Regions from separate parts of the Homo sapiens genome. Here regions 1, 2, 3, 4 and 6 are each linked to region 5. Evidence: promoter capture Hi-C in 16 types of primary human blood cells and fetal thymus (Javierre and others, 2016). All regions are on one chromosome and are shown on one strand. Each heading gives the region's core, a stretch centred on a gene start or on the middle of the fragment in contact. The rest is flanking DNA. Distances are from core to core; before and after follow the strand shown. Region 1 overlaps ZNF569 (zinc finger protein 569). Region 2 holds the start of ZNF793-AS1 (ZNF793 antisense RNA 1). Region 3 holds the start of ZNF571 (zinc finger protein 571). Region 4 overlaps ZNF570 (zinc finger protein 570). Region 5 holds the start of ZNF432 (zinc finger protein 432). Region 6 holds the start of ZNF607 (zinc finger protein 607).

Region 1 (4,194 bases), core at 223-2,722, about 15 Mb before region 5:
CTTTAAAAATTTGTTTAAAAACTTGATAGCTGTATTTTCTTACTGGCTTATATGGTGTCTGGCAGAGTCCATCCCAGGTAAGTAAAGCTTGAGTCCTGTTTCTCTCAGCTGGCATCTTTCTTTCCCCAGATTTAAGATTACTTGGTTGCCCTGTGACCTCAGTTCTCTGAAGGGTCCTAGAAAAATTATTTTGTAGTTTGTCCATTTCCTTGTTGTACGGTAGAAGTTTGTAGTTTCCTTGTTGTAATGATTGAAGCAAAGTTCTTTCCAGCTGTTTACATCCCTAAGGAGAAACCCAAAGTCCCCTCATTACAATAAACTTTTGAGAAGTCCTTCAGTTTATTTTGTCATGGGGCTCAAAAATACCTTGCAAATAAAGTTAGGATTAGGATAACAGTTTAAAGTCAAGTAAATTAGCTAGGATGGAGTGGGAGTGGGAAAGCATTACAAGCAAAGCAGTAGCAATTGGTAAGGCCTCAGAAAAGACGGAATTCAGTATACTGGAGGAACTCAACTTTAAGCTAATTGAGGAAATACTTTAGAAATAAATTCACAAACTAAATGTTATATTCATAACAAATGTTATTTTTCTTTCCACTGCAAAGAACTTACTTCCAGCCATATCAATTTGTTTAGTTTCTGGACTATCATGCATGATTCCCTCCTGAAATGAGCTCTGATACAGTTAAAATGCTTACAGCAACTGCCATATCTACATAATAATATATATTTTTTAACACTCCACTTGCTTGAATCCACGTTTTGCCAAAAACCTAAAACTCATTGAAAGCTCTACACCTGGCAGCATCTCTCAAGGCAGAAATTCTCTAGTTAGCGTGAACTAACTCACAGACTGGGGATATGGCTCTGTGGTGGACAACAGTATTTTCTCCCCCACCCCCAACTCTTTCCTAGTCTTCTCTCCACTATTTCCATGTGTCCCCGGATTCCAGGTCCTACCACACCACTTTGCAACACATGTTTAAATCACAAGGGAAAAGGGCCAATGACACATGAAAGAAGGATATAAGGGCTGGACCCACTTATATAAGGGCACCCACTGATGGCTGGAAGAACAGCATTAAACTCTGTGGGTACCGCTCTATCTGGGATCTAAAGTTGCCAAAGCCAGTTGCAACTACAGGAATCAAAAATTTAATTTCTCAAAAGCTTCTTTACTTTGTTTTCTCTTTAATTTGGTTGGCATGTTTGAAAACATTTTTATTCTACTCTCATACTCAAATAATAATTTGGCTAACTGTAGGCTTCTCAGAAAAACAGTTTTTCCTTAGAAATTTAAAGCAATGTGACTTCACTTTGTGGCTCCAGTGACTTCTAGTGTTGCTGTACATTGACATTCTACTTCTAGATCATTCCAACTTTTTTTTTCCTCTGTAGAAAGTTTTTGGCCTTTCTTCTCTCTTATTGGTTTCCGATAGTTGGTGTGGGTTTTTCTCATTAATCGCACTGAGCTTTTGGTCAGTATATATCACGGACATACGGTCATTTCAATCCGTATATTTATTGTTCTCTTCTAGGAAATTTTCTTGCACGTTTTTGTTTTCATTTTCTCTACTTTCTCTTACGTATAATTCCTAAGAATAGGATGATCTATCCCTTAAACTGATCATCTAAGTGTCTTATATTTTATCTCTTAACATTTCTACTTCTCTCTTAGGGCCCGTATGTTTGAGAAGGAAGCTCCCACTTATGTTAGTTAAACATTAAGTCACAGAGCTCTCCATTAAGAAAACTTTTTCTTTAGACAGGGAGTTGAAGCTTCATAAAACAGTTTAACTGCCTCCTACTTTCCTTCCCTCTAGTTCACTCTAAACATACTTGTATGTATACATTCTAGAAATTTTCTTCCAAAATTTATTACTTTTAAAAACTCGAGGCCAGGCACAGTGGCTCACACCTGTAATCCCAGCACTTTGGGAGGCTGAGGTGGGCGGATCACAAGGTCAGGAGTTCGAGATTGGCCTCGCCAACATAGTGAAACCTCACCTCTCCTAAAAATACAAAAAATTAGCTGGGCATGGTGGCAGGCGCCTGTAATCCTAGCTACTCAGGAGGCTGAGGCAGGAGAATCGCTTGAACCCAGGAGGCGGAGGTTGCAGTGAGTCTAGATCGCGCCATTGCACTCCAGCCTGGGCAACAGAGGGAGACACCGTCTCAAAAAAAAAAAAACAAAAAACAAAAAACACAAAACTCAAACTACAAAAATGTTGGAAGATCAGTACAAAGAATACTTCTAAAACCCTTAATCTATATTCAGCATTGCCACATTTTTCTACCTCTCTTTCCTTCTCTAAAAACATATACACAAACTTCACGTTAACTCTTTCAGAATGTACCTCCAAAAACTAAGAAGCCTCCTACATAAACACAATGCCATTATCACACCAAAGATATTAAACATTCGTACAATAAAATATATTATCTCTATACTTCCCTAGTTGTCGCAACAATATCCTTTAAAACCAATTTTAAAATAAATTGAGGATTTAATCGAGAATTCTATACTTATAAAATGCATCTTAAGTAACACTCCCCTGTTTAAACTTCTTTTTTTCCCCTTGCCCAAAATTTACTGGCTTATGGTAACAGAGAAACTGAGGTATGTGGAAATATGAAAGAAAAAGAGAGTGATGGAATGTGGAATTGGTATATAATGTTTAAGAATAAACAAAATAACCATGGAATACTATGCAACCATAAAAAGGATAAGTTCATGTCCTTTGTAGGGACATGGATGAAGCTGGAAACCATCATTCTGAGCAAACTATCGCAAGGACAGAAAACCAAACACCACATGTTCTCACTCATGGATGGGAACTGAACAATGAGAACACTTGGACACAGGATGGGGAACATCACACACTGGGGCCTGTCATGGGGTTGGGGGAGGGGGGAGGGATAGCATTAGGAGATATACCTAATGTGAATGACGAGTTAATGGGTGCAGCACACGAACATGGGACATGTATACATATGTAACAAACCTGCATGTTGTGCACATGTACCCTAGAACTTAAAGTATTAAAAAAAAGAATAAACAAAATAAAACTGGAAAATCTTAGATATTTTTATATTCTTTTTTTTTGGAGACAGAGTCTCGCTCTGTTGCCCAAGCTGGAGGAGCGCATGGCTCGCTGCAGGCTTCATCTCCGAGATTCAAGTGATTCTCCCATCTCAGCCTCCCAAGTAGCTGGGACCACAGGCATGCACAACCATGCCTGGTTAATTTTGATATTTTTGGTAAAGATGGGGTTTTGCCATGTTGCCCAGGCTGGTCTTGAACACTTGGGCTCAAGTGATCTGCCCACCTTGGCCTCCCAAAGTGCTAGGATTATAGGCCTGAGCCACCATGCCCAGCCTGATATTTTTATATTCTTTATGGAGTCCTTTTTAAAAAGTGTATTTTATTTTAGATTCAAGGGGTACATGTGCTTGTTTGTTACATGAGTATTACCTTAAATTACTTCAATGACAACTTTTATAATTTTGTTTCTGAATACCTCATTAGCTTCATCTTTCACTCCTTGAAAGTAAACTCCAGCCATACATAATTACATACCTTTCTTAAAATATACAAAGCATTGCTCCTTAACAGTTACTGTATATTACGTTTCCATGCCTAAAAACTATCTCTTGATTGCTGATCATCAGTTCCTTCTTGCCTTTGACCAATACCTTCTTGTTCTTAAAGAGATCAGATTAAGAACAACTTTATCATTTGATTGGGATATCCGTCTATGTAGATCTATTTGTACTTCTGTATCTCATGAGCTTAACCATCTTGTGGCATTTATCACTCTGCCAGTGCACCCACTGATTTATCTAAGTAGGACTGTGAACCACTTATGGCAGGGACTGGTCATATGGTTTGATGTTTCATGGCCCAGCACAACCTATATAAGAAAAGATGTGCAGTAATTTTGTGCAATGAATTTAAAATAACTATGATTAATATTTTGAGTGCTCTATGAGAAAGTTAGAAAAAGAGATGGGTACTGTAAGCAGGGAAATGCGAACTATAAGAAAGAATCAAAAGAAATGCTAGAAATCAAAAACATATTAATAAAAACAAAGAATGCCTTCAATGGACTCATCAACAAACTCAACACAGTAGAGGAAACAATCAGTGAACCTGAAAATAGAAACTTCAAAAGAAACTTCCCAAACTAAAAT
Region 2 (4,808 bases), core at 1,862-4,361, about 15 Mb before region 5:
CAGCACCTGTTTCTGCAAGCACAGGGTTGGGGCTAGGGTTACAGATTAACAGCATCTCAAGGCAGAAGAATTTCTCTTAGTACAGATCAAAATGAAGTTTCTTATGTCTTCCTTTCTCTACATAAACACAATAACAGTCTGATCTATTTTTCTTTCCCCCACAACAAACAACACTCAGGCCCAGGTAAGGTCCTTTCTGCTCCAGAGCAAGGAAGCGCTGTGCCTCCTTTTAGGCCAAATTTGGGGCCCTGTACCCTTTTAAATGATGACAGTGTCTAGGGCCACCACATTTAGTTCAAGGCTTGGACCTATAGGCATAAGCTCACTGGAACAGGTGAGAGCTGATGGTCACTGCAGGTTGGGTTAGCCCAGAGCCTTGGAGCTAGTCTGCCTAGAGGCTCCTTTCTCGAATTCCTCTGCCTAGAGGAATCACACTGTCATAGGCCATAAATGCTAATGATGACCTTGGCAGGGTCCTATCTTTCTGCAGACTATGATAAAGTTCTGTTACTTCTTTTCTCACTCCCTCTGTTCCCTGGCCCACATCATTACTCAATACTCTGAATAGTATGCTTTTTCTTTTAAAAATGAAGGTATAATTTACATATAATAACACAAATAAGTGTTCACTTTGATGAGTCTTTGACAATTACGTAGGCCCATGAAACTACCACATAAAACAAGACATAGAACATTTTCCTCACCCCCTAAATTATCTTCGAAGTCATAGCCCCAGCCAGGCACAGTGGCTTACGCCTGTAATCCCAGCACTTTGGGAGGCTGAGGCATGCGGATCGCTTGAGGTCAGGAGTTTGAGACCAGCCTGGCTAAGATGGTGAAACGCCATCTCTACTAAAAATACAAAAATTAGCCGGGTGTGATGGCGCATGCCTGTAATCCCAGCTACCTGGGAGGCTGAGGCACGAGAATCACTTGAACCTGGAAGGAGGTTGCAGTGGGCCGAGATGGAGATCTCACCACTGCACTCCAGCCTGGGAGACAGAGTAGAGACTCTGTCTCAGAAAAAAAAAAAAAAAAAAAAAAAATAGCCCCTGGAGTCAACTGCTTTCTGATTTATAACTCAATAGATCTGTTTTGCCTGTTCTTGAGTTTCTCATGACTGGAGTCCTACAGTGTGTACTCTTCTTTTACCTGTTTCCTCTTTCCATGTGTACTCCTTCCCCAATCAAGAGGTCAGCTCCTTGAGTAGCCTCTATTTTTACTCGAGTACTCAGTCTTCTTTTTCCCAATTCAGTTGCTGAGATATATTTAGGTTCTAATAAATTTTGGGTAAAATTTAATAATGATGCTAATGATCCTTTACTTCTGAATAACACAGAAACACCCAGCTCTGAATCCTTGTTGCTTTATTTACTCACTGAATGATTACGGACAGGTCACCTCACCCCCGTGTTGCAGTTTCTTTTGAAGCGTGATGATAACACTATCTTTACAATGTTTGTGGCAGTCTTTAATGTTATTCCAAAATATCGCCAGCTCTTCCCATCCCAGAATTATGGTAGGATTACATGTCTGCTATCACACTCCTGGGTGGCCATGTGACGTCTCAAAGACTAGTGAATGGAAATGACATGTATAGTTTTTGAGGCAGAACGTTTAATTCCCAGCAAAAGACCCTCAAAGGCTGTCTTTCCCTCGGCCTTCATGAGTGACAATTTACCAGTTGTGGCTGCTTTATTGGTCTAATCCTAGAATAAGAACAGCCCTTGAAGTGAGCAGGCCAGTGATCAATCAGGCATTTAATAGGCACTTTATAAATACTCATTTTACTTCAATATTATTATTTTTGTTTTTTTAGAGACAGAGTCTCACCCAGGCTGGAGTGCAATGGCACAATCTTGGCCCACTGAAACCTCCACCTCCTGGGTTCAGTGATTCTCCTACCTCAGCCTCCCGAGCAGCTGGAATTATAGGCGTCCACCATGCCGGCTAATTTTTGTATTTTTAGTAGAGACGGGGTTCCAACATGTTGGCCGGGTTGGTCTTGAACTCCTGACCTCAGGTGATCTGCCCACCTTGGCTTCTCAAAGTGCTGGAATTACATGTGTGAGCTACCATGCCCAGCCTAAATGGTGATTTTAAATTAATTACTATAATCACTTCAAAGTGTTGTCATATAAACCACTTATATTAAATCAAATGAAGCAAGGACCCTTGACCTCTTTGTTAAATTTTAAAAATCTAGCAGAGCCATAGGCCTTTAATTTTTCCATCGCAAGGAAGAAGAGGAAACTGGTAATAATCTCCTCTGACAGAATAATCTCGCAACTTTAGGAACTTTATTTAAAGAATTCAGAAATGGGGTTGGGCGCGGTGGCTCACACCTGTAGTCCCAGCACTTTGGGAGGTCGAGGCAGGCGGATCACCTGAGGTCGGGAGTTCGAGACCAGCCTGACCAACATGGAGAAACCCCGTCTCTACTAAAAATACAAAATTAGCCTGGCGTGGTGGTGCATGCCTGTAATCCCAGCTACTCAGGAGGCTGAGGCAGGAGAATCGCTTGAACCCGGGAGGCAGAGGTTGCGGTGAGCTGAAATTGCACCAATGCACTCCAGCCTAGGCAACAAGAGCGAAACTCCGTCTCAAAAAAAAAAAAAAAGAAGAAATGTCAATTGTAGCATTTTAACACAGCATTGAAGTTATCTACTGATGCATAGCAAATTACCCTAAACTCAGAAGCTTAAAACAACAAACATGTAGTATCTTACACACTTTCTGAGGGTGAGGAATATAGGAGCTGCTATAGCTGAGTGCTTGTGACTGTGTCTCTCACGCAGTTGCAGTCAAACTATTGGCAGGGGCTGCTGTCATCTCAAGGTTTGACTGGGGCTGGGAGATGTGCTTCCAAGGGTGATACACTTGGTTATAGGAAGGCCCCAGCTACTCCCAGGCTATTGGGTGGAGGGCTTAGTTCCTTGCTACCTGGGCCTCTCCATAGGCTGTCTCGGTATCCTCATGACATGGCAACTAACTTCTCTCAAAGTGGGGGCAGCAGCCTTTAAGACAGAACTCAAGGTGCCATTTATTATATTTAATCTCAGCAGTGACATCTATCACTGCTACTGCATTCTATTAGTCTCACAGTCCAACCCTGGTACAATGTGGGAGGGAACTACATAAGAGTGTGAATAGTAGGAGGTAGGAATCATTGGGAAACATTTTGAGGTCAGTTATTGTATCAGTTGCTAGGATGACCAGTTGGAATTAGGATTTTTTTAAAAAGCCATTTTCATAAGACAAGGCAATCTTTTCTAGAGATGTTCCAATACCTGTGATATGCGGAGCACTGCGCTAGGTGGTATTCAAGGCAGGCCTGTAGTGAATGCTGTTGGACCCAGCCACCACCCCTGAGCAATCATATGCAGACCGCTGGCTTCTTAACTGCAGACACCTACAGACTCAGCCTAAGACTTTCCCACGAGGCAGGCTCGAAGTGCTGGAGCTTTAACACCTCTGGAGTGGCCCTAAAACAATTAGGAAGAGAGATGGTGTAGACATATGTAAGCTTCATCGGCCTGGTGGTTGTGAAAACTTGGAAGTGGTTTCTACACAATCCCCCAGAGGTCCCAAGCTGACTGAGCCCTCATTGATCCAGAGCTAATCTGCTCACCTATGCACTGTATATTCGTTCCCATCGCTCCCGTCTCACTTCTCCATCCCCCACCTACCAAATAAACTGCTTGCACTCATTCTTTCCTCAGGTCGGCTTCTCGGGCAAGCCTCCTTAGGTAAAAACCTTGCTTTCAACATTTCCTTTCCATTATGCGCTAAGAACTCTGATCTCTTCCCGCTGCGGCAGCCCCGCCCTTTCCTTGCGGCTCCGCCCTTTCCGTGAAGTCACGCCCGTCCTTAGGCTGTCTCTGTCTCCCTAAGAGCGAGTCTCTTCGCTGCTCTCTAACTCCTAGAGCTGGCTCAGAAAGAGTTTCACATTGCCATAGGGGAGCTCCTAGGAGAGGCTGCACCCATTGCACGTAAGAAGCGGTAAAAATGTACGCGGCCATCTTACCAGGCTGCCGGAGACAAAGAAAGCTCAGCTTTGATGTCTGGGCGCCACCATGTTGGCCACAGGAGGTTTTGGCATCTGAGATGCTGAGTTAAGAGCAGAGACGACATCTCTGTTTAGGGATCCAGGGACACTTCCTTCTCCTTGTCCTAAAATAGCCTTATCTTTTGGTCTAGCAAAGGGCTTAATCATCCGTTTTACGGCACAGTTTTAAACATGGCCGCCCCAGGTAGGAGTCAAGTGGGCGTCGCCATCATACCTCCAATTACAGCTTTGAGAAACCCAGAATCCTGTTCACTGGAAGGTTGCCGGGTGGCGGCTGACAGCCTCAAAGTCGCAATTGAGTCTGCGCACCGGCCATTCAGGATGGGACGACCTTATACCGCGGTGAGGCGGCGTGGCAGGACGACCAATTTCAGATTCAGGGCGCGGATGCAGCATAAATGGGAAGGCACGGTTTGAGAAACGGTCAAACCTGGGACTAGTGGAGGATAGTGAGCTGCCGACTACGGTGGCCGACTGGGTCAGCTATGGGTGCCCGTGAGGGTCAATGACAAGGGAACTGAAGGGTTAAGAGATTCGGCGTCTGAGCCTCGCGGGGCCTCAGTGGTGGCGGACAGAGGTTTGCGGGAGTCAGTGGCACGGTCTCTGAAGAAGATGGATTGGGAGTGTGTGGGAATCAATAAATGCGAGTTCTGTGAAATGTCTTGATTTTCAGGGTGCATGGGGTCAGTAATAGTGGTCTTCATGGGTCTGGGGTCAGTTGGGATTTTTCAGACACTGG
Region 3 (4,756 bases), core at 2,236-4,735, about 14 Mb before region 5:
CAACTCTACTAGAATCATGACAGAAAGACACAGAACTGCCTGGAAAGGACTACCACTGGCTTAAAAAAGAGCAGTTTGATATAAAAAAGAATAATGATCACAATAGTTCGAAACATATGGTATTCAAAACAGACACTCCCTTTTGGGACTCCTTAGAAGGTTGTAGGGCACCAACTCATTTCTCTGAAAATATATAAAGGGAAAGAATCAAATCAATTACTCTGCCTTTCCATATGAACTGTATTTATTTATCTTGAGATGGAGTTTCACTCTTGTTGCCCAGGCTGTAGTGCAATGGCGCAATCTCGGCTCACCACAACCTCGGCCTCCCGGGTTCAAATGATTCTCCTGCCTCAGCCTCCCGAGTAGCTGGGATTACAGGAATGTGCCACCATGCCCAGCTAATTTTGTATTTTTAGTAGAGACGGGGTTTCTCCATGTTGGTCAGGCTGGCCTCAAACTCCCGACCTCAGGTGATTCGCCTGCCTCGGCCTCCCAAAGTGTTGGGATTACAGGCGTGAGCCACCACACATGGCCATGAACCGTATTTTAAGATAACCAAATACTTGATGAAAAAAAGTTCTTATATATAGAAGAACTGTAACTAATGAATACAGGAGGAATTGAGAGAATTTTTTTTTAATCACCATATATAACTGTTAATGAATGGGCCAGGCGCGGTGCCTCACACTTGTAATCCCAGCACTTTGGGAAGCTGAGGTGGGTGGATTACTCGAGGTCAGGAGTTGCAGACCAGCCTGGGCAACATGGTGAAACCCCGTCTCTACTAAAAATACAAAAATTAGCCAGGTGTGGTGGCACATGCCTGTAATCCCAGCTACTCGGGAGGTTGAGGCAGAAGAACCTTTTGAACCTGGGAGGTGGATGCTGCAGTGAGCTGAGATCACACCACTACACTCCAGCCTGGGCGACAGAGTGAGGAAAAAAAAATAAAGAATGGATCTTGGTATCAATCATAAGTGGACGTTATAACCTTTAGGTCAGTGCTTCTCAATCCTTCTAAAATTTTTCACGGTCATATCCCTAGGAACCTTTTTAGATACTTTTCTCTAATAGCCACCACTCTCATGAAATTTTATTACCATAGATATACTGTATATATGTTTATGTACTGTGGCCCTTTGGAGGACCACAGATCATTGTAATACCTATGAGTTTTTGTCCTCTTCCTTCTCAAAAACCAAGTTTCACCCACTTGGAAGGTGATATCCTCCACCCTCATTGAGAATGCATGCTTTAGGTGAAAAAAAGGAAAGGATTAAATGGACAGCATTTAAACACATCAATATGACATCACTGAAAGTGGGACATCAGACTGTAAGGGCCTCATGATGTGATGTAATAGGAAGTACACAGCACCAACTATGAATTAAAGGTGATTTAGGGAAAATCTGATCCAAATTCCATCAAACCTCTAGATCTAACTGCCTGTTTACAGAAATATGAAGGAACGGAAAACAAATTATAAGACAGTACAAAGAAGCAATTAGCTAAAAGCAGTATACAGAATATTCTACGGGACAGATGATCTAGTTTTTCTACAAATCAACAGCACCAATTAAACCAAAACAAAACACAGGAGGGAAACTATCATGCATTAAGTAAGTTTAACAGGTTTGGCCACCAAATGCAATGTGTGGACTCTATCTGGATCCAGATTTGAACACACCTATTGTAAAAATATGTCTTTGAAATAATTGGGAAAATCTGAATATGGGGGTATACAAGATTATGAAATAACCACCACGCTGTTACACCAACATAAGAAACAAATTTATTGTTTTAAACTTATTGTTAGTTTTTTTTTTTATGTTGGTATAACAGCATCATGGTTATTTTAAAATATAATGTCCTTTTTGGTAATATATGCTTATAAGAGGATAAAATACAATTTTGAAATACTATAGGAAAAAACGGGGAAGGATTGATACAAAGGTATTTACAAATGTTTTTAATTACAGCTAGGTGTTGAACATGTTGGGGTTCGTATTATTCTTTAGCCTGCTTGAAAACATCCACAATAAAGTTAAAATTTTAAAACTCTTCAAATTTCCCCCAGAAAGTACAGTTATTTTTCATCAAAACCTTAGACCAGGCCAGGCGCGGTGGCTCACGCCTGTAATCCCAGCACTCTGGGAGGCCCAGGCGGGTGGATCACGAGGTCAGGAGATCGAGACCATCCTGGCTAACACGGTGAAACCTCGTCTCTACTAAAAACACAAAAAATTAGCCGGGCATGGTGGCGGGCGCCTGTAGTCCCAGCTACTCGGGAGGCTTAGGCAGGAGAATGGCGTGAACCCGGAAGGCGGAGCTTGCAGTGAGCCGAGACCGCACCACCGCACTCCAGCCAGGGCGACACAGCGAGAATCCGTCTCAAAAAGCAAACAAACAAACAAAAAAATCTTAGACCAGAAAGGACTGCTGTATCATTGGGTGGAAAGGAGAGGTGTAGTGTGGCTGGGGAGTAGAGCTAAACTGATGATCCCATCCCCGCAGCATCATTTATGGGGTGCCTAAGGACCAGTCACTAGCATGGCTGGTTCTTCCTTAGGAAGATGTTGCTGGAGGTAGAAAACGTTTCGGAAAGGAAGAAATTTGAGGTTAGAAAGAAAACAGGAACTTCACACAAGACTTTCAGAAGTGCGATATTCTTTTCCTCTGGGTGCCTCTCTTGGAAAACGCAGAACCGAGAAAAGAAATAAGCATCATAGAACATCAGAGCTCTCGGAGCAGACGAAACAATTTAGGATAACACCAACCTCTAGAAAGGGATTAGTCTTCCCCACAGGGCTGTCAAGCTAGAATAGGACATCTTTAACAGTGGTCTTCTTCCTAAGACACTTCCAGGGGTAAAGCCTCACCATCAGGGAAACTTCAAAAAGAGCCTCTTACTCTGCAAAGAAACTGCAGCAGCTGTAACCGCACGATTCTCAGCTGGCTTAATGATGTCCGTGTCACACGAGGAGTACTGCGGCCCGGGAGGGGCCAAGCGCTAGGAGCATTAACAGGCGGCAGGTGAGCCCACCCCGCGGCCGCACAAGCGCACACGCACACGTCCAGGGCGGAGGAACACTACTAGTAACACCCGCCTCCTTCTAGCCTCCCTATCCCAAAGTTATGGTGCCGATTTTGTCCGCGGCAGGGGCTCCAGGGGCACACTCATAAATTCGGTGCGGAGGAACACAACTAGCAGCACCACACCCCCGCCACTGCCAGAACCAAAGTGACGGTGCCGACACCCCTCCGCAAGCGCAAGGCCGACTTCCATAAGTAATTAGCCAGAGCACCGTCCCGTTCCTGTCAGCACCGAGCCCCAGCCAGGACACCGGTATTCCCAGCACCATACAAGAACTACTTTTTCGATGAAGCAACCCAAAAGCTGCGAGCGGTTCCCGGTGAGGCCGCCCACTCACCTGGCCGGCGCAGACAAGCTCCGTGCGTCAAGACATAACAGCGTAAGTGTACGACGTTGCGCAGCGACGCGGGGGCCTTCGGGAAATGTAGTCTACAACTGGAAACCGGCCGGATCGTGTCTGCGCAGGCCCAGCAGCTAAGATCGGGTCCGGCGCTCCAGAACAGAACGATCCCTGAGGCTCCCTTGCTCGAACTGTGGGACTTACCCTACTATGGTCCGAGCCTACCCTATTTCATTATACTCAAGTAACGCCCCAGAAATTCCAGAGAATCTCACACAAAGAGGTTGAGTCTTGCCGTGGTGCCTTCAGGGGAATGTCATCCCGGGCTAGAAGAGCTGCAAAAGGCTGTCAGGTAAGGTCTGGATTTCTCTCTGACAGCTCTGGCCGTGACGCAGTGGCCACGATACCGGGTTGCTGCTCAACGGGGTTCGGAAGTGTGACGCATTCTTTGCGGCCATGTGTGTGTGTGTGCGTGTGTGTGTGGGTCTGTGCGCGCGCGTGTCCGAGTGTCCTCTGTGGGTGCAGAGTGGGTAGTGGCCATGCCTGTGTGATGTGCGTCAGATTATGCTTGAGGCTATTAGTGGCGCATTTAGTATTGTGTGCGGAAGGGTCTTGGGAATGGTTTGATTATAGCTTTGAGGGTGACTGATGTCTGTTTAATCAGATTCAGCCTGCGACTGAGTATCTTATAACCTGTAAGAAATTGATTTTTCTTTGCATGGTCATGAATTTAAAATAGATTCCCATGAAATTATATAAATGTAGTGAATGATTCATTGAGAGTTCGCCTGTGGCAGTGAATGTGGGGAAAGAAGTGTGTGAGCATAATATGGTGAGAATGAGCACGATTGTGTGCAGCGCTGTATTATAGTGATATCTCCTGGCTTCAGTTTTCTCACCTGTAAAGTGAGGGTGTCAGTCGTGTAACGCTTTGGAACAATGCTTTTTAATAGGAATTTCTGCAAAACTGAGTTCCATTTTTTATATCTGTGCTCTCCAATATAGTAGCCACTAGCTACATATGGCTATTGAGAAATTGAAATGTGGCTGGTTTGACTGAGGAACGAATTTTTTAAATTGTGTTCAATTTTAATAAATCTAAATGTAAACAGCTATATATGGCTAATAGTCTTCCTATTGAACAGTACAACCTGGAGCATTAATTTGCCTTCAAGATTTGAAGGGGGTAAAAACTTAATTCATCTAGCAAATATTTGAAAATGAAATTCTTAAAACTTCCTTAAATTTTTTTTTAAATTTGAGATGATTGTAGATTCATATGAGGTTGTAAGAAATAATAGAGACATTGTGTGTTATCT
Region 4 (4,863 bases), core at 529-3,028, about 15 Mb before region 5:
GAACTTTCTCTAACCCCTGTAGGCAGAAGCAATATTATGAGTAGAACACCCATTTCTTTACACAAAATTTTGGGAACTCTGGATTAAAGTATTTGAATTTTAATGGAATTGATGCTCTGCTCTGCTTGGTCTAGCACAGTTTTCAGAGATACAGTGAATACTTTCTGGTATTGTTTTTGATCCCTTTCTAGCTTCTTGAAATTTTCTTCAAACCACTCATTGATTAATTCAACTGAGTCAGAATTTGAATACTTCACATGTGCCAGGTTCTATTCTGTACCTGGGGATAAAGCAGTGACCAAAGCCAAAACATACTCTGCCCTCATGGAGCTTAAATTTTAGTTGAGGAGGGTGAAGAACAGGCAATGAATAAAATAATTAAGTGCAGTGGAGAAAAATAAAGGAGGGTTAGGAAATAGGGAATTGGGGTGGAAGCAGTGCTATTTTATACTGGAATAATCTGAGATATACAAAGGCCCTGAGTACAAATATGATAACATGGTTACATATTTGAGGATGTAATATCAGAGAGAGCCCAGTGTGCCTAGGGCAGAGGAAATGAGGTGAATATGGTAAGAGATAAGGTTCTTCCATTTATTTCATTTCAGGAGTTGGTGACCTTCAGAGATGTGGCTGTAGACTTCTCCCAAGAGGAATGGGATTGTCTGGATTCTTCTCAAAGACATCTGTACAGTAATGTGATGCTAGAGAACTACAGGATCTTGGTATCACTGGGTAAGGATATCTTCTTGCAAAACTGAGCTTCTGCTCAAAAGGGGCTCTTTGCTACCACTATTGTGAATTTTTGGATAATATCTGCAAAATTTGGCTGAATGTCTGCTGCCTATGCCAAACAAATGGCTTAGTGTTTGTGGATTTGGCAGTGAACATATTCTTGGCCTGTGCCTGAAGCTTCATCTTCCTTATCCTTCTAATACATGTCCTTTACACATTTCTCTTTTTGCTTACTGTAAACTCCCTTTTCCCTGATGAGCTAAGGATTGAATGTGAGTTCTGGAATATCCACAGCATGACAAAACTCTACTTTTTTTTTTCGTATTTGCAGGACTTTGCTTTTCCAAACCAAGTGTGATATTATTGTTGGAACAAGGAAAAGCACCCTGGATGGTGAAGAGAGAGCTGACAAAAGGCTTGTGCTCAGGTTAGTGAAGAGGAAATTGGCAAAAATCTTTGCACGTGACAGCTCAGCTTGACTCAAAGGTATCACCTCTTCACTCTTCAGGCTTCCAAATTCTTCTCAAATGTTCTAGGTTTTCATAAAAATTTGGGGCCATTTAGGATGTTCTCCCACATTTGTTATTTTTAATTATTTCCCTTCTCTTACTTTCCTATCTCCTTTCTAACAAGTCCCATCCCCTCTCAGTTTCATAAGCCTCTCAGTCTTTAAAAAATCTTGTAGTAGTCTTATAAACTTTTTTTTTTTTTTTTTTTTTTGTGACAGAGTCTCGCTCTGTCACCCAGGCTGGAGTGCAGTGGTGCAGTCTCGGCTCACTGCAAGCTCCGCCTCCCGGGTTCAAGCAATTCTCCTGATTCAGCCTTCCCAGGAGCTGGAATTACAGGCACATGCCACCACGCCCAGCTAATTTTTGTATTTTTAGTAGAGACAGGGTTTCTCCATGTTAGGCTGGTCTCAAACTCCTGACCTCACGTGATCTGCCTGCCTCAGCCTTCCAAAGTGCTGGCATTACAGGCATGAACCACTGTGCCTGGCCTCTTATAAATTTTTGAGCTCTACAGAGCATCAGAAGTGTAGGCAGCCTTGGGGACTGAGTCCTCAACCTGAGGGATCTGATGCTATCTCCAGGTAGACAGTATCAAAATAGAGCTGAGGTAGAGGACACCCACTGCAGAATTCATTGCTTGCTTGTTGGTGGAGAGAAACCCCCACATTCAGTCACAGAAGCCTTCTGTGTTTATTGTTGTGGTGCGAGAGAAAAGGAAAAACAGGTTGCATGTGTGATTTTTCCTAAGGTGCTCATTGTGGGGGAGGTTGTCGTGTGTGTGTGTGTGTGTGTGTGTGTGTGTGTGTGTGTGTGTGTATTTGTAACTTTTTTTTTTTTTTTTGAGACAGAGTCTCGCTCTGTTGCCCAGGCTGGAGTACAGTGGCATGATCTCGGCTCACTGCAACCTCTGCCTCCTGGGTTCAAGTGATTCTCCTGCCTCAGCCTCCCCAGTAACTGGAACTACAGGCACCCACCACCACGCCTGGCTAATTTTTTTGTATTTTTAGTAGAGACGAGGTTTCACCATGTTGGCCACGCTGGTCTCCAACTCCTGATCTCAGGTGATCCGCCAGCCTCAGCCTTCCAAAGTGCTGGGATTACAGACGTGAGCCACTGCACCCAGCCTGTAGCTTATGTTTTTGATACTTTAAGAAACCTTTCTATGTTCTGAGTTCATATAGATATCTGAAAATAGTCTTTTAAAGATTGTCCTTTTATATGTAGGTCCATAATCCAATTGGAACTTATTTTTGAGGATTATTTTAAATAAGAATTTAATTTCTGTATCTTATGGAAAACCAAAGGTCCCAGATATTTTTTGAATAAGTGTTCCCTCTGCCTGTTTTTCTGAATGTTACCTCTTAATATACCAGGTTTTAGTCTATATATGGGTTTGACTTTAAGCTTTATTCAGTTTCATTGATCTCTGTTTCCTTATACCAGTACCACACTGTCTTAATAAAAATAGTTTATTAGAAGGATAATTATCTGCTAGGGAAAATCTCTACAGCTTGTTTAAATTCTTTAGAATTTCTTGTTTGCCCTTTGGACATCAATATAAAGTTTAGGGTCAACTTGTAAATTTCTATCAGAAAACAACAAAATGCTGTTAACTTTTGATTCAAATTTTAACTTTTGATTCAAATTTTATTTATTCTGTAATCAATTCTGGAAATTTTAAAAATTCATTAACATGGTATAGCTCTCCATTTATTTAGGTTTTTTCACTTTTTTCAGTGTTTTATAATTTTCTCCAAAAAAGGCTTTGCACATCTTCTGTTAGATTAAATTGTAAACATTAAACATATTAGTTTTGTTGCTGTGTTAAATGTTATCTATATTTTCTGTTTGTTGCTCATATATAGAAATGAAATTAACTTCGTATGCATTGGCCTTATATCCAGCAACCTTGCCAATCTCTCCTGTTAATAATATTTTTAAATATGTTTGGATTTTATGTATGAGTAGATATATTTGTGAATAATGGTAGTTTCTTCATTTTCAATTCTTATACCTTAATTTATTTTTCTGTTGCCTTTGTCGTATCTCCAGTATAATATGAATCGAAGTAGTGATAACAGGCATTCTTGTCCACTTCCGGTCTTAATAAGAATACTTTAGCATTTTGTTTTTTAATAATTTTGATGCTTAAAAGTTTTGGTACATACCCTTTCATTCCTGTTTGCTAGAGTTTCATTGTGGAAAGCTTTTGAGTTTTAACAAATGTTTTTCTCCATCTGTGGGTGATTTTTACCTCTTAATAGGTTTTAGTTTTTCACATCTTAATGTGGTAAATTACATACATTTTCAAATGTTGAACCAACATTGCATTCCCAAGTTAAACCCATCTTTATATCTTTTCCACTTTTTGCTAGTTGCTGTTTGCCAATATTTTGTTTGGGTGTTTTGCATCTGTATTTATTAGTGAATTTGATCTTCAGTTTTCCTTTCTTGTCAGATTTCGGAATCAAGGTTGATTAGTCTCGTAAATTCTCTTTTTCTTCTTTAGAAACATTTGTGTAAAATAAAAATTATTTGTTTTTTGAATGTTTGGTAGAACTTTGTTCATTTTGGCTTGGAATTTTTATTGTTAAAAGAATTTAAACTAATCATTCAATTTGATATGTTCTAAAATTCTAGGTTTTCTATTTCTCCTAGAGGCAATTAGGGTATTTTTTTCTAAATATTTTTAGTTTTGATGTAAGTTTTCAAACTTATTAGATGAAGTTGTCCATTATTTTTCTGGTTCTCAATGATTTCTTGATCCGTGAATTATTTAGAAGTTTGAAATTGAAGGCTTTTGTTTGGTACTTGTTTAATTGTATTATGGTTAGAGAATGGGATCTCTTCAATATACATTTATTGAAAGTATTTTGAGACTTGCTTTATTTCTTAGGGCTAGTTTTGGTAAATATTCTTTGTGTCCTTGAAAATAATATGTATTTTCTGGTTGTTGAATACAGTGTTTGATATTTGCTCATTAGGTTAAGCTCATTAACTGTGCTGGTCAAATCTTCTGTGTCCTTATGAATTTAAAAAAAATGTCTTTGAGCCATCAATTACTGAGAGACATGTTAAAGAAACTTCTACTCTGGTGGTAAATACATAAATTTTTTTCTTGTAATTGTAACAGCAGTTTTTTTTATATTTTGAAGGTATTTCATTTGGTCATATGTTTTTAGAATGTTTTATTTTTCTAGTGAATTCTTATATTATTGTTACTCTCTTTAATTCTAGTGACTATCTGATTAAGCAAAAAGAATTCACTTAATATTGTTATAGCTATATTTGCCTTTTGTTAATATTTACTTGATGTAGTTTTTTCCTACTCCTTTATTCTCCGGCTTGCTGTGTGTTTCTCTTATAAGCAGTATTTGGATAAACATTTTTTAAAATCCAGTCTGATAACCTTTATCTTTTAACCAAATGATGGTGGTGGTCAGTTAAATTTTTTGGTACTATTAATAGATTTGGATTTATTTTCCACTACCTCACTTTCTTTTATAAATTGTGCCTTTTCAAATTTTTCTTATTTCTTGGTTTTTCTCCATCTCCTAATTTGAATGTTTTACAATCTATTTCTATTCTGTACTGGTTACCTTAGAAAATCTAACATTTA
Region 5 (4,731 bases), core at 1,464-3,963:
ATTGTATATTCTGAGATGAGGTGAAGTTATCAAACATGGCACCCAACGACTCAAGACCTTATCAGACAACTCCCTAATGCCAAATCTGCAGTTAATGCCAGTTCAGCCACATGTTCAGGAAAATGGAAGCTATGCACACCTTCCATTTTCCTAGGTCACTTAGATTTTATTCCTAAATAAGCTCACACAGACACGCAAGACTTGAGTGTGTGGCCTTGCTTTCGTCCCCTAAAAAAACTGTTTCCACTGAGTTTGCCTGGTCTATTTCCATAGGAGTCTCTGAGGAACCGTGTAATAAACAGCAGTAAGAAATCTTCTGCCTTTATTAGAAAGCTAGTTCAAAACACTGTTCACCATATCACCTCTGGGAAGAATAGCAAATTTTTCTTGAGATCTAAGTGCCATGAAATAATAATCTCCTGAGGAACCTGTCTGCTTTCTCCCCACAGTCACTGTATAACTTAGTGTGACTTTCTTGTACTGGCTGTCAGAGACATCAGATGCAAACTGAGAGCTAAGGTAATGGAAAGGATCTTCTAGTCAGGCATTATTTTCCAACATCAGTCATTTTGTAGGAATCACATAAACACTATATTCCTGATCTTACTTTGCCATGATGTTGGAGTTAGATTTAAAGTTTATTTCTCTCTAGATTCTGAAATGATTTCTTACGGGTCTCTACAAATCCACTATGGAATAAAGGAGAGAATAAAATAGAGAAAAAGTCACCTGGGCATTGATCATTTTCTTCTGTTGTGGGAAATGGCCAGCACCTGGGATACTCTGTCTTTGTCTCCTCTGGATCTGCCTTAAATTTCTATTTAGAAACTTCAGTCACCAGTGAAGGGTGTCCACAGAAATCATATCTAGGTCCTGGAATCTTCCTCTTTCTTCATTTACTTCTTGTCTCTTCCCAGGGTAGCCAGGACCTGTGGACTGAAGAGCAAAACAACTTTCAGGGGTACATTCACCTTAACACGTGGCCCTGAATATTTGTCTCTTTATTTGGTTCTCTCAAACCAAGGAAACACAAGACCCTCAATGTAGGCCAAATGCCTTTCTTCGGTGAAGTGTGGAAGTAACATGAAGATGAAAGGGGAGGTCACAAAGGAGAATCCACATAGCATCATGCCTAAGCAGTAGGTAATTCTCATATCAGTTTTTTAAATCAGGCCATATGGATGGTGAGAAACTACATTTTTTCCTTTATACAATGTTACTCTCACACCTCTTTAAAAGTCTTTATATATATTTAAAAGTGTTTATATACGGCCAGGCATGATGGCTTACACCTGTAATCCCAGCACTTTGGGAGGCCGAGATGGGCAGATCACCTGAGGTCAGGAGTTCGAGACCAGCCTTGTCAACATGGTGAAACACTGTCTCTACTAAAAATAGAAAAAATTAGCCAGGCATGGTGGCAGGCACCTGTAATCCCAGCTACTCGGAGACTGAGGCAGGAGAATGGCTTGAACGCAGGAGGCGAAGTTTGCAGTGAGCCCAGCCATTGCACTCAAGCCTGGGCGACAAAAGCAAGACTCCATCTCAAAAAAAAAAAAAAAATGTTTATATACACACTTCAATATGAAGAACAAGAAACACATAGAAAAAAAGAGGGAGACAGAGAAAAGGAATACGAGTTATAAATACAAATTTAGAAAACAATTCAAAAATATAAATACTGGGAAAATAGCCGCCTTTATATACTAACATACAAAACCTGAAACACCCATAAAAATATGCAGTACATTTGCAAGAGGAAGGATAAAAATAGGCTCTTGTTAATTTGTGCGCAGTAATTTAAAAACATAATGTTAAATAGAAAGCCTATTCATCCGCCCCCCTTCACCCCCAAAAAACTTTCATTTTCTGCAGGTTCAAGAGCATGGGTTGTTGTGGAAAGCCAGAGGATTAGAAAACTCATTGTGGAGGAGGTACTCGGACCTGAAACTTTTAGGAAATGTTAACGTTCATCAAGTCTGTTCCAGCCAAAGTTTGAGCTCAACACACACACACACACACACACACACACACACACACACACACACACACACACACAAAACCAGCCAGGGCTCTTGTGAAAAGACTTCGGCTTTCACTTGTCTCTAGACAAAAGACCACCACCCCGCCAGATAAAATAGGAAAACCTGGAATAGACACACACGTACACTGGATTCCCTTAATGATTCATCAATCACTAAGCCTCAGATTAATCCAGAATGTGAAACAGAAGTCACATTCGTTGACAAAAGCCACCCCATCGATTCTCAATCACTGAGCCCCACTGGGGAGTGACCCGCGAGGACCACAATCCCTGACCTCAGTACTCTTGGTCGTTGATCTATTCAGGCCTTTAATCACTGACCACCAGAGCCTCCATGAGGGACCCCAAAGATATCCTATCACAGACACCCACCAGGGACTCCTACCAGCTCCCCTCCAAAAGGAAACACCCGCCCCCGCCTCCCCCAACCCCCGCGCTACCTCCACCATATAGCGCCACCAACAACGCAGACGCCCTCAGAAAGCTCCCTCCCACCACGTTTCCACGCCCTGACCCACACACTGACCTGACTCTCCTTGGAATCGCCGCGACCTCTTAAAAGCTGAACTTACTTCCCTAAACTTCTTCCACTTCTGGGCCCCTCGCCCAACTCCCTCCCCCTCTAAACCTCCAGAGACGGTCAGCCGCGTTTCCATGGAGAGCGGAATGCGGCCTTCCGGCTTTTCCTCAGGAGGAGACGCGTCCGCGCCGGCGTCGCCTCGCCGCTCTGGGGGCGGCCATCTTTGAGTACGTGACGTACAGAAGGCACAGCGGCCGGGAGACGCGGTGGACGGAGGCCTCTTAAACTGTCCGATTTCCAGACACCTCAGCCCTGGCAGAAAATGGAGAGCTTATCAGAGGCTTGAGTTCACACAGGCAGACACGGCGTGGGGGTAAAGTCCTCTGAACAGACACGGAACAGAAATAAGTTAGTCTTCTCCTCGCAGGGGACAGTGAACGGCGCAAACTTCTCAAAGGCCAGAACCCATTATTACCACAAAGGCGCGGCATCCCTTCTTAGCGGTTATGATGGCTGTGACGTCTCAGCTCAATGGAAAATTAAAGTCACCTCTGGGCACCTCAGTCACTATTGTAAATGCGAAGCGTTTTAGAAGCCGTATAAAAACTGAAGCAAGAGAGACTAGAACAAAAAATAAGCGAGCGGTGCGTTGCAGGTAACGGAGCCAGAGCCCTTAGGGGAGAGCATCATGGGGGCGGCCATCTTAGGGGACGTTCGGTGTCCGTACGGCAGAACATATTCTCTCTGAGAAGCTTGCGGTGGAACTGGCCCATGGAAATGTCTTTAGAAGAGAAGAACCACCTGGCTCTGTTCTTGACTCTGGAAAAGAATCCTTTTCTAGAATTATTTAGGTTGTTGCCAGATTAATTTCCTTTAGAGAGTTTCCTTGCCCCCACGACTTCCTATCTTTAAAGCCAACAATAGTATGTGAAATCCCTTTCATATTTGAAACCACTGACTATTGCTGCTGCATCTCTCCGGTTTCTCCTATTCTTAAGTGCTTGGGCAATCCAGAATAATCTCCCAATGCTAAAGTCAGCTGATTAATAAACTTAATTACAATGCAGAGTCCTTTTTGCCATGTAACATAACCATGGGAATTACTCTGGGGTTGTAGATCTGGCTATGATATGATGACACTAATGAATATTTTGCAATAAAAACATACTATTTTAAAATATATATATACATATATCTTTATATATGTATATTTCTACAGAATTATTACAAGTTATGTCTTATGATGGTTTCTTATAAGAAGCAAGGAGGAAAAGGTCCTTAACATTTTCAATTGTGTTTTTTTTAATAATAAAGCATGCATTCTAATTTACAAAAACCACAATAAAGGTACTTTCATCATGTCAGTCTTGAGGCTGAACAACACTTAACATTCTTTTTCCTTTTACCTGTCTGCCTTCTCCCTTCCCCTACACTCTCTATACCCCACCCTCCAGGCTCTCTGTTCCATCATCTTATGCGTATGGCCCCTTTCCCCTGTGCCCTCTTATTACTTCCATCTATCACGCAGACACACACTGTCACTCCCCTAAACACTCTAGTGTTAAACAATTGCTGCTGATTGTTTTTTGACAAGTGCCCTATGGGTAGGAGTGTTCACATAAATAAAGTCAAGCCAAATAGAGAAATACTATGAGAATAGACCTATTCAGCAGGCTGCAAAGCAGGCTTAGTAGTGAACATTCTGTGGGGATGGAGGCTTTTGGGTGTTTCAGAGCCATTTCTGCCATTTTCAGAGCCATTTCTACCTCCTCAAGTGCAGATATTCTGCTAGGGTGCAGATATTCACTGTTACTGTTGTTAAAAGGTGGTTGCTTTTCAAGGCTACCTTGAAGCTGAGGATATGGGGATAGGATTAGGGCAAGCTAAATACCACAAGCTCACTGTGGCCGGCATTGTAGACTTAATTGGCCATTCTAGAAGAGGAACTAACTGGCTTCTAGCCAGGGCCTAAAAACTAGATCTAGATAGCCAAAAAGATTACATTAAACTTCCTCTAGTGTCCCATCTATCAGATTCCAATCCTGAAGGACCAAGTCAATCTCTCTTCTATTTCATCTCCTTTCTCCCATCTTATAAAAGATCTTTGGAAAACTCTGTTTATTTCATATATAACAGAGCTGATATTTGTATGTTTTGTGGAGATGAT
Region 6 (4,486 bases), core at 1,419-3,918, about 14 Mb before region 5:
CCTTTCATTCCTCTCTGAAAAACCAATTAAATAATCATTTTGGATACAATCCTTGCAAAAGTTTTTGCAAAATTCCCTTTGTTTAATTTTAATTTTAAATTTTATTTTTTTGAGACGGAGTCTCGCGCTGTCGCCCAGGCTGGCGTGCAGTGGCTCGATCTCGGCTCACTGCAAGGTCCGCCTCCCAGGTTCACACCATTCTCCTGCCTCAGTCTCCCGACTAGCTGGGACTACAGGCGCCCACCACCACGCCCGGCTAATTTTTTGTATTTTTAGTAGAGACGGGGTTTCACCATGTTAGCCAGGATGGTCTCAATCTCCTGACCTCATGATCTGCCCGCCTCGGCCTCCCAAAGTGCTGGGATTACAGGCGGAAGCCACTGTGCCAGGCCCAAAATTCCATTTTTAAAAAATGAGCTGCGGCTGGGCGTGGTGGCTCACGCCTGTAATCCCAACACTTTGGGAGGCCAAGGTGGGTGGATCACCTGAGGTTGGGAGTTCAAGACCAGCCTGACCCACATGGAGAAACCCCGTCTCTACTAAAAATACAAAAAAAAAAAAAAAATAGCCAGGCATGGTGGCCCATGCTTGTAATCTCAGCTACTCAGGTGGCTGAGGCAGGAGAATCGCTTGAACCCGGGAGGCGGAGGTTGCAGTGAGCAGAGATCGCACCATTGCACTCCAGCCTGGGCAACAAGAGCGGAACTCAGTCTCAAAAAAAAAAAAAAAAAAAAAAAAGAAAGAAAAAGAGTTGCATATATAGTTTGAGAACTGTGATCCACCACTGTAACTCTAAATAGTGTTAAACATTAGATCACAGCTATTTATCCTGTGACAGATTCTTTACAAACATAAATCTTATTATTTGTATAATATCCAATCCCTTGGACGCTGTATAATTTTCTTAACCATTCCCATAATCTCGTTCATTAGTTTTCTGCAAAACCATTCAAAGGTATAAAACTCTTTGATTCCAGATCTAAAACCTGAGTCTAAATAATTTGGATTATGGACATCCTAGAAAAATGCAAATTAACAAACATGTACAGGAATTCTTTATAGAATTTCAGGGGGTTTGTGATGTCCCTTATGCCCATAAGGGCATTGGTCTACAGACAGTACACCAATGACCGAGAATTCCTATTTTGGAAAACTTAAATTCTGGCTCACTTCCTTCACATCACGGCTAAGTTCATATTCTTGTTGCTTTTGATCTACAGAAATCCAAAACGGAATATCCAAAATTGCCTCATAATACTTAGCGCTTATGTTTCCCCCCTCCAAGGCTGCAGGCGCGTAATTTCATACACACGACCAGAAGGAAGTATGTTGGATGGAACCTGCAATCATCCTTCACTGCAGGTTCTTGGGGTCAGAATTCAAGGCCGTGTTTGTTAAACATGTAAATGAAACTCCAAGAACCGGGAGGTGGGGGCGGAGTAACAACCCTTTTCAGGAGGGAATCCTACACTCGAAACTGACAAACCCTGCCAGACCAAATTTTAGTCAGGCTACTACACCTTCAGCTAGGCCCATCTGTACACTTCACTGTAAAATCTGGCTATAGCAAAGAACTATTCTAAGTCAGTTTAGCAAGACCCTTTCGCCTCCGTATCTTCATCCTCCACCGTCCCCCAGGTCTCTCTCTCCAGAAATAATCCTGTTAGGTGCGTTTAGTCAGAATCTTCCTTAACCCAGACATTTCCTCTTAGTAATTTCTCATCCAGTGATCCCTAACCTTCTTGGCTATAAATTCCCACTTGTTCATGCTGAATTCGGAGTTGAGCCCAATGTCTGTTACCCACTGCAAAATCTCACAGCCGGGATCCCAATACCTACCACCATGGTCCTGAATAAAGGGTTCTTTGCATGCTTTAACAAGTGTCACTGAATACTTTTTTATTTAACAGAATCTATCATACCTTTCTTAAGGGCAATTACTCTTCTAAGCTTCTCATCCTATCTGTTTCTTCTCACTGGAAATCTTCATCTAAGACTCAGTATCTGATTTCCCATTGGGACCATTTCTCTGTTGTAGTCGTACTAGGCTGAGGAAGGCACAGGAAGCAGCAGGGAACCTGGAGCCAAGGGTCAATAGACCCCACAGAGCCCAGCGAAGCACGCTTTACAAAGGACACACACGGCATGTACAGGTCACACAAGGTCGACTACGCACCCCTCACAGTCCCGCAACTGCACCCACGTCACACAGGCAAGCCGGTCCTGTCGCCGCTGCGCGGTCTCTCACGCTCCCCGCCTGTCTCCTAGAGACGGGCCCCTCCTCCGCAGCTCCAGCACCCTAGGGCCTGAGGAGGCGGGAGACTCGCCCGGCCCGCCTGGGGGCCTCCGCGCTCTGAGCGCCTCCTGCAGCCCCACTCTCACCGCCACGCAGGGTACCACGCGGGCGGCGGGCTGGGGCTGCAGAGGCTCCCGCAGTGACCTGCGCCGCCTTCTTCAGGTGGAACCAAAAGGTCCCGGAACCGGAGCCAGGGGTCCAAGTTTTCTCCGTTGCCTTTGTAATATGTAGTCCAAGCCAGAACAGTCAGGACCGCAGGTACCGGTGAGAAATGGAGTCCAGAATCCTAAAAACCTACGAGAAATACGGCAGCGACCACTTGGACCGCGCCTCCCACCCACCGCTCGAGCCCCGGAGACTTCTGGGAGTGGCCGCCTTGCCTCGAGTGCGCATGCGCAGATCGGCCACTACTGGGCCCCTGGCCTGAGGCTTAGGGTGGAGTTAGTGCGTTCTTAGGGCCAGTAGGAGGCGAGTCTGAGTAGAAACTGATCCAGGTAGCCTCGGAAGGGATCACCTGCTGGATGGGTGTGAGCTCCTCAGGGTGGGGCGCCGAAACCCTCATGGCTCCTGAGGTAGAGCCGGCCTCCTTGGTAACACATGGGACTGGGACTTTTAATACCACCCGACAGGCCCAGCTTGTCTCGTCAAGCGCTAAGTAAATGGACTCACGTCCTATATGAGGGTTTGAAGTTCCATCACATTCTTCAATACATGACATTATGTTCTTCATCTTTGGACACGAATATATTTGACTAAAAATTTGACTAAAAAATCATCTGAAGAAATAACTGCTAAATAGTTTTATTATTTTTGTTCTGGAATAGGCTTCTTGAAGATAAAATAAGAAATTTAAAAAATTTTTTTGATCCTTCATGTAATACTTTGTAAATCTTCATAGTTATTTAGAAGCATCCAAAATTTCCAAATGGTAAAAAACGAATAAGAAAAATTTTTAGGTAAGTAAATTTGGGGGAAATATTTACAACAGCTAAAACGGACAAATATTTAATAGTCCGAATTTCCTGTTTCTTTGGCTTAATAAAATATTGATGAATACAGGCTGGGCACGGTGGCTCACGCCTTTAATCCCAGCATTTTCGGAGGCCAAGGCAGGAGGATCAGTTGAGGCCAGAAGTTCAAAACCAGCCTAAGAAACATAGTGAGACACCCCTCTCCTCCTCCCAAACTCTACCAAAAATGAAAGTTAGCCTGGTGTGGTGGCACACGCCTGTGGGCCCAGCTATTCCAAAGACAAAGGTAGGAGGATCAGTTGAGCCCGGAAGTTCAGGCTTCAGTGAGGTATGATGGTGTCACCGCACTCTGGCCTGAGCAACAGAGCAAGACCTTGTCTCAAAAAATAAATAAGTAAAATTAATTTAAAAATAAAAAATATTTGTCTATACCCTAAGAGGAAAAGGAACAAAACTAAAAAATCACCATTCAAAAATACAAATAGTCAAGGAAAAAAAACTATTAAAGTTACAATTTAAGAACTTATTGATCACTTTTTCTTCTCTTAATTAGTTCTTGGATTTGTTGCTCCTGAATCTCCTGAATAATCTCTCAGAAATACCACACATAGATCAATGGATTAAATTGACTCCACATATTATTTTCTTTTTCTTTTTTCTCTTTTTGAGACGGAGTTTTGCTCTAGTTGCCCAGGCTGGAGTGCAATGGCACGATCTTGGCTCACTGCAACCTCCACCTCCCAGGTTCAAGCGATTTTCCTGCCTCAGCCTCCTGAGTAGCTGGAATTACAGGCATGCATCACCATGCCCAGCTAATTTTGTATTTTTAGTAGAGACAGGGTTTTACCATGTTGGTCAGGCTGGTCTCGAACTCCCAACCTCAGATGATCTGCCCGCCTTGGCCTCCCAAAGTGCTGGGATTATAGGCATGAGCTACTGCGCCCGGCTCCACATACTATTTTCAACAAGGATACCAAGGCATTTTAAGGAAGGGAAGAGTAGTCTTTGTTGAAAAGACTGGAATTAGAGATGCACATAGAAAGGAATGAATTGAGTTCCCTGCCTCTCACCATATACAAAATCAACTCAAAATGGATCAAACACCTAGGTGTAAGACTTAAAACAGTAGAACATTTAGAAGGAAATGTAGGCATAAATCTTCTGGACTTTATAGTCAGCAATTGTTTCTTAACCGTGACATCAGAATCACAAGCAACAA

The links. Contacts are between HindIII fragments. The CHiCAGO score rates a contact against its expected background, and 5 or more counts as called.
Region 1: a contact is called between a fragment that was not itself captured here and the fragment with the promoter of ZNF432 in region 5, in 1 of 17 cell types (non-activated CD4 T cells). The highest score is 7.6, in non-activated CD4 T cells.
Region 2: a contact is called between a fragment that was not itself captured here and the fragment with the promoter of ZNF432 in region 5, in 6 of 17 cell types (non-activated CD4 T cells, total B cells, total CD4 T cells and 3 more). The highest score is 17.0, in non-activated CD4 T cells.
Region 3: a contact is called between the fragment with the promoter of ZNF571 here and the fragment with the promoter of ZNF432 in region 5, in 3 of 17 cell types (non-activated CD4 T cells, total CD4 T cells and naive CD8 T cells). The highest score is 7.7, in non-activated CD4 T cells.
Region 4: a contact is called between a fragment that was not itself captured here and the fragment with the promoter of ZNF432 in region 5, in 2 of 17 cell types (activated CD4 T cells and total CD4 T cells). The highest score is 6.9, in activated CD4 T cells.
Region 6: the fragment with the promoter of ZNF607 here is called in contact with the fragment with the promoter of ZNF432 in region 5 in 2 of 17 cell types (total CD4 T cells and activated CD4 T cells); the score reaches 7.4 in total CD4 T cells.

What each region holds. Positions count from the first base shown.
Region 1 is chr19:37,454,791-37,458,984 of GRCh38, forward strand. The region is part of intron 2 of ZNF569 (zinc finger protein 569); the gene reads right to left. Among named protein-coding and RNA genes, the nearest start is that of ZNF569, 11 kb to the right of the region's middle. The HindIII fragment of the contact is 609 bases long and covers 1,169-1,777 here.
Region 2 is chr19:37,502,556-37,507,363 of GRCh38, forward strand. ZNF793-AS1 (ZNF793 antisense RNA 1) reads right to left here and starts at 4,532. Exons shown (of 3, transcript NR_110723.1): 1 at 4,284-4,532; 2 at 3,291-3,485. It overlaps ZNF793 (zinc finger protein 793), which reads left to right and starts at 4,384. Exons shown (of 8, transcript NM_001013659.3): 1 at 4,384-4,411. RefSeq lists enhancers at 3,302-4,093, 4,094-4,808, 4,451-4,600. The HindIII fragment of the contact is 826 bases long and covers 2,699-3,524 here.
Region 3 is chr19:37,591,307-37,596,062 of GRCh38, forward strand. It overlaps ZNF571 (zinc finger protein 571), which reads right to left and starts at 3,486. Exons shown (of 4, transcript NM_016536.5): 1 at 3,435-3,486. ZNF540 (zinc finger protein 540) reads left to right here and starts at 3,570. Exons shown (of 5, transcript NM_001172225.3): 1 at 3,570-3,789. RefSeq lists enhancers at 2,447-3,128, 2,928-3,057, 3,128-3,177, 3,129-3,811, 3,408-3,607 and 2 more. The HindIII fragment of the contact is 14,201 bases long and covers 1-4,756 here.
Region 4 is chr19:37,475,273-37,480,135 of GRCh38, forward strand. ZNF570 (zinc finger protein 570) reads left to right here. Exons shown (of 5, transcript NM_144694.5): 3 at 609-735; 4 at 1,067-1,162. Among named protein-coding and RNA genes, the nearest start is that of ZNF570, 8.3 kb to the left of the region's middle. The HindIII fragment of the contact is 1,736 bases long and covers 911-2,646 here.
Region 5 is chr19:52,046,125-52,050,855 of GRCh38, forward strand. ZNF432 (zinc finger protein 432) reads right to left here and starts at 2,714. Exons shown (of 5, transcript NM_014650.4): 1 at 2,571-2,714; 2 at 730-936. The coding sequence starts at 744. RefSeq lists an enhancer at 2,497-3,086. The HindIII fragment of the contact is 4,326 bases long and covers 1-3,314 here.
Region 6 is chr19:37,717,093-37,721,578 of GRCh38, forward strand. ZNF607 (zinc finger protein 607) reads right to left here and starts at 2,669. Exons shown (of 5, transcript NM_032689.5): 1 at 2,177-2,669. RefSeq lists silencers at 2,171-2,260, 2,321-2,430. The HindIII fragment of the contact is 3,190 bases long and covers 1,949-4,486 here.